2 separate regions of the Homo sapiens genome follow, and region 2 is linked to region 1. Evidence: promoter capture Hi-C in 16 types of primary human blood cells and fetal thymus (Javierre and others, 2016). All regions are on one chromosome and are shown on one strand. Each heading gives the region's core, a stretch centred on a gene start or on the middle of the fragment in contact. The rest is flanking DNA. Distances are from core to core; before and after follow the strand shown. Region 1 holds the start of CLEC4G (C-type lectin domain family 4 member G). Region 2 overlaps INSR (insulin receptor).

The links. Contacts are between HindIII fragments. The CHiCAGO score rates a contact against its expected background, and 5 or more counts as called.
Region 2: a contact is called between a fragment that was not itself captured here and the fragment with the promoter of CLEC4G in region 1, in 1 of 17 cell types (erythroblasts). The highest score is 6.5, in erythroblasts.

What each region holds. Positions count from the first base shown.
Region 1 is chr19:7,730,860-7,733,644 of GRCh38, reverse strand. CLEC4G (C-type lectin domain family 4 member G) reads left to right here and starts at 1,535. Exons shown (of 9, transcript NM_198492.4): 1 at 1,535-1,597; 2 at 1,874-1,984; 3 at 2,326-2,379; 4 at 2,557-2,619. The coding sequence starts at 1,543. RefSeq lists a cis regulatory region at 1,461-1,470 and promoters at 1,277-1,540, 1,228-1,540, 934-1,540. The HindIII fragment of the contact is 11,720 bases long and covers 1-2,785 here.
Region 2 is chr19:7,144,620-7,147,638 of GRCh38, reverse strand. The region is part of intron 11 of INSR (insulin receptor); the gene reads left to right. Among named protein-coding and RNA genes, the nearest start is that of ZNF557, 76 kb to the right of the region's middle. The HindIII fragment of the contact is 1,821 bases long and covers 587-2,407 here.

The sequences.
Region 1 (2,785 bases), core at 286-2,785:
TGTTTACATATCTACAAGAGGGGCTGGAACATTCTATTAAGTGCTCAACATTTCACCTTGTCAGTGAGGCTGGCCCTGGCCACCCTAGCCACTGCCCACTGCCTAGTGCCCATCCCAGTCCTGCCAAGTACTTATCCTACTGGATTTTTTCTTCCCTTAATGTTTTTTCATAGCATTTATGACTTTTGAATAGAGTATACTACGGTTCCCACCTTTTGCACTATGGACATTAGGAGTCAGATCATTCTTTGCTATGGGGGATGTCTTAGGCATTGTAGGGCTTTGCGCAGCATCCCTGGCCTCTACCCACTAGATGCCTGGAGCACACACACACACACACACACACACACACACACATTCTGTGACAACCAAAAGTGTCTCCAGACATAGCCAAATGTCCCCTGGTGGGCGTAATTGCCCCCAGCTGGGAACTACTATGCTATACAACTTATGTTTTCAATTATGTTTATTACGTTGAGTATGGAGTCTGTCTCCCCACACTTCTAGAATATTAGCTCCAAGAAGAGAGGAATTTGCTTATTTTACTCTCTGATGTGGCCCCAGTTCCAAGATCAATGCCTGGCATATGGCAGGTGCTCAATGTTTGTTGAAAGAATGCATGAACACTGAGTGTTTTTGATATGCCTGAAATGGTGCTAGGTAGACATGTATAACCTCATTGTCTTTATTTTTTTATTTTTTCAATTTTTGTTTTCATATATATATATATATATATATTTTTTTTTTTTTTTCAGAAATGAGGGTCTTGTTATATTGCCCAGGCTGGTCTGGTCTGGAACTCCTGGGCTCAGTGATCCTTCCATGTCGGCCTCCCAAAGTGCTGGGATTACAGGTGTGAGCCAGCAAGACTGTCTTGTTTCTTTATCATAGCATCTTTGTGAGAGAGGCCCATCGCTATCTCCTTTACAGTGGGGAAAACTAAGGCTTCTAGAAGCTACCTAGAACCCATACAGTGGTAGAGTCCTGCAGCTCCGCCGGCTACCTCCCTAACAAAACTGTTTGTTCCCTTCTGGTACAGAGGGACTGGATCAAGGTCAGGTTCAAACCCAGCCTCTGCAGGCACCTGCAGGGGAGTTGAGAAGGGACCTGAACTGGCCTGGGGGGCTATGCCTGAGGGGGCTTTCTCAGGAGCCAGCAGGGGTTACAATTTGGTCGGGTTCAGTGTGTCCCTCGCGGGATAAAACCCAGCCCCAGGCCCATAAGAGATGGTGACTAAGCTCCAAAGAGAAGCCTCCAGCCCCAGGCCCATAAGAGATGGTGACTAAGCTCCAAAGAGAAGCCTCCAGCACCAGCCTGGGGATGGAGCTGCAGTGGCCAGAACCAGGAGGCTGGAACCGCCCGGCCTCACTCCAGCCCAGCCCAGCCCAGCCTTGAAAGGGCCCAATCCTGTGATTGGTCCATGGGTTCCCGTTGCCAGGAATTAAGGCCAAGAAAATGGGAAGGAAGGAAGGGAGTGCGTAGGTCCAGTGAGAACAGGCGTGAAATTTATATCTCTGCCCAGGACTGGGTGCCTGCATCGCCATGGACACCACCAGGTACAGCAAGTGGGGCGGCAGCTCCGAGGAGGTCCCCGGAGGTATGAGCAAGGAGACTGCCCCATCCCTGCCCCAGTGTCTGGGGTTTGATGGGGGAGGGGAGGGAAGAGTCGAGACAGGCCAGGGTTGTGGGTGCAGGAGAGACACCACAGGCCATAGAGCCAGTTGGACCAGGGTCCAATTCCAACTCTGCCGCTTAGAAGCTGTGTGACCATAGGCAAGTTACTTAACTTCTCTGAATCTCAGTTTCCTGGGAGTAACTCAGGCCTCCAGGGCTCAGTTCTGGGGGACCCAGCATGCCGTCCTTGTTATGCCAGGGCCCTGGGGACGCTGGGTGCACTGGAGCAGGAGACCCCTCTTCTTGGCCCTGGCTGTCCTGGTCACCACAGTCCTTTGGGCTGTGATTCTGAGTATCCTATTGTCCAAGGGTGAGTGACTCTCAATGGGGAGGTGTTGCATCCGGCCCCCCTGGGGACAGAAAACCCCCACTGCATGGCGCACCAGCTGCATCCTGGGGTCCTGTTCGCGTCTGAGTGTGAGCAGAGTGTGTGTACATCTTTGGGCCGTGTGCACTCACGCGTGTGCACATGGCGTGCTCGTATGTGCGCGAGTCCCCGCGCGTTTGTCTCCCATCGGCGTGTGTGCACATCGTGTGAGCTGTATGCCTGCCCGCCCGCTCCGTGCTCCCGAGTTGGGGGACGCTGCACCCCCCGGGCGAGGGGAGGATTCCCGAGTTCCCGGCCTCGCCTGCAGGAGCCTCTCTCCTCAGCCTCCACGGAGCGCGCGGCGCTGCTTGACGGCCACGACCTGCTGAGGACAAACGGTGTGTGCAGAGCCGGGCGCCTGGGCCCCCGGGGCGTGAGGGGCGGGAGTTTCTGAGACCCCGGAGATGGAGTCTCGAGTGCGTGGGGGCCCTATGGTCCCTGAGGCTGGAAGGGGGTCCCCTGAGTCCTCCCAAGTGACCCGAGGGGCATGCATTTTGGGGCGGGGGTCGTTCCAGCCTCGAAGCAGACGGCGGCGCTGGGTGCCCTGAAGGAGGAGGTCGGAGACTGCCACAGCTGCTGTGAGGGGGCGCGGTCGAGGCTGTGGGCGCAGGGATGGGGTCTTGCGGCCGCGATGGGAGGGGGGCCGGGGCGGAGGCCTGCGGCGGGTGGTGCGGGGCGGGGGCTGGTCTCCGAAGTCCCGCCCCATCCTCGCCGCCCTCGCCCCTCTCACCCTGCGGCTCCCAG
Region 2 (3,019 bases), core at 248-2,747, 590 kb after region 1:
TAATACAAAAAGACCATAAAGAGAATCTTAAGAAATGCCCCCAAAGTAGGATTTGTTTTCTGACCACACATTTTCTGATGACGCTGCAATAGAAACTAAAAGTTAATTTCAAAAGATTAAACAGAAAACTTCACTTCTTGGTGGTTAAAAGTTAAACACTTACAGGCTGGGCGCAGTGACTCACACCTGTAATCGCAGCACTTTGGGAGGCCCAGGCAGGCGGATCACCTGAGGTCAGGAGTTTGAGACCAGCCTGGCCAATATGGTGAAACCCCTTCTCTACTAAAAATACAAAAATTAGCCAGATGTGGTAACGTGCGCCTGTAGTCCCAGCTACTCAGGAGACTGAGGCAGAAGAATCACTTGAACCTGGGAGGTGGAGGTTGCAGTGAGCCGAGATCACGCCACTGCCCTCCAGCCTGGGCAACAGAGCGAGACTCTGTCTAAAAAAAAAAAAAGTTAAAAAGTTAAACACTTACATATCTATCGGGCCAAAGCAGAAATGGAAACTTCCATTGAAGTCCTTTTGGAAAATAATGAAAATGTGAATATCACATACCTTAACTTGTAGAATATTGTCAAAGCTTGGCTTTGATGTTACTTAGCAGACTTAAATGGATTGATAAATTAAGAAATAAACTTTAAACTATAAAACTATAAATGTGTTAGGAAGGGAAAAGCAATAACAGCTAAGCCTATGGTAAACATAATCAAAGGGAAAACACAAACCAGAAGGAAAGAAGATGACATAAAACTAGCGTCTGAAGAAAATTTTAATGTGTTAAGTTCTTTGGACAATGGTGCACTTGCTAAATTTGAAAGTTTCAGTAAGGTGGGAAAATTTAACTTGTCTAAATGGATTCAAAAAGAAGCAGAAAAATTAAGTGGTTATGAACCTTGGAAAAAGATATGTGTCAAATAATTTCCTCAAAAAAGTCCCTTGGCCCAGAGAGTTTTATAGACACGTTCTTTCAAATTGTGAGAGAGCAACTATTTCCTATAATAGAAAAACTATTTTAGGGCACAGAAATCTATAAAAGTTATCCCAGTTCATTTTATGAAATGAACATAACACCCTTAAAGAACTTGACAAAGAGGTTGAGCATGGTGGCTCATGCCTGTAATCCCAGTACTTTGGGAGGCTGAGGTGGGGGGCGGATCACAAGGTCAAGAGATTGAGAACATTCTGGTCAACATGGTGAAACACTGTCTCTACTAACAATACAAAAATTAGCCAGACATGGTGGCACACGCCTGTAATCCCAGCTACTTGGGAGGCTGAGCCAGGAGAATCGCTTGAACCTGGGAGGCAGAGGTTGCAGTGAACCGAGGTTGCGCCATTGCACACTCCAGCCTGGCAACAGAGCAAAACTCTGTCTCAAAAAAAAAAAAAAAAAAAAAAGAACTTGACAAAGATACTGCACTGAACAAAAGCCACAGGCCAAGCTAATATGTGATGTTAGATTCAAATGTCCCAAATAAAACACTGCACTGGCAATATTGTTTATCTCCAAAATGCAAGGATGGTTTAAGATCAGAAGATTTGATAACATCATCTAGTTCATCAAGAGGTGCAATAAGGAAGATCATATCTGTTTCAATAACCTTAATTTAAAATTCCTAACTTAGAGAAAGGGGAGGAAAAAAAGAGGCTTCATAAAACTCATAATAGAATATTTCTTCTACAAGATAAATATTACCTAGGTTAAACCAACAGCCAAGCTAACATCATTCTTAAAATTATTCTTAGCAGAGTTAGGAACAAAACAAGGAAGCCCCATCTCATCATTACTAATTAACATTTCTCTGGGCATCCAGCCAATGTAATAAGACAAGAAACAGAAATCAGAGTTGTAAAGAATGGAATGTGGGAAATAAAGTCATTGCTATTTGCAGAGCGTCTAGCTCAAGGGTAGGCAAACTATGGCCCATGGGCTAGCTGCCTGTTTTTGTAAATGAACTCTTATTGGAATGCAACCCCACCCACTTGTTTACACATCATGTAGGGCTGCTTTAAGCTACAATGACAGAGTAGTTGTGACAGAGGTCATTTGGCTTGCAAAACCCAAAATATTTATTATCTAGCCCTTTACGGGAAAATTTTGTTGACCCCTCTTCTAGTGTGTCATTGAAAACCCAGGAAAGCCAATTATGAAACTTTTTAAATGAGTTAGAGTTTGGGAAAGTAGGTACATAGAAATAAGCAAAAAGACTGTAGATACACAAGCAATAATTAGAATATAAAATAAGGGAAAAGATCCCTTTCAAAATTGCCGTAAAACCTTAGCACAACTCATAATAACCCCATCTAGAATGACTTATAAAGGAACACGTTTTAAAGTGTTACTGATATATTAAATTGTACAAATAAACATGAAAGCCTGTTTCAAATCATTTAAAGAAAGCTTACTGGCAAATGGAAAAGAGTAAGTTGTATAGCACGATACATAAAAGGTTAATATCCTTAATGAATAAACAACACAGGAGTAAGGAAAACACAAGAAATTCATGGAAAAACAGACAAAAGACAAGGAGGGGACAATTCTTTGGAGAATCACAGAGAACCAATAAAGGAAAAATGAAGTCACACTCAGTAATATAAAGATCCGCAAATAACGTAGTCGAGTGATAGCATATTTTTAATCTCTTGGGTTAAAGATCTAGACAAACAAACATAGAAAGAAAAAAAAAAACTATTAAGGCTTAGGGGTTGCTGAGATTGTCCTGGAATGCAGTCTCATGGCCTGCTGGTGCAACCACAAGTCAATATAGAGTTTCTGGACAACCATTTAGCTGTAGGTATTAAGAAGCTTAAAGAGTTTCTTATCTCCCTGAACCTAGTAATATTTTCCTCTAGGAATCTACTTTGGGGAAGTAATAAGACAATCAGACAATGATCAAAGGAATATTTATAACAGCAAAAAAAAAAAAAAAGAGCCATGTGCGGTGGCTCATGCCTGTAATCCTGGCACTTTGGGAGGCTGAGGTGGGCAGATCACCTGAGGTCAGGAGTTTGAGA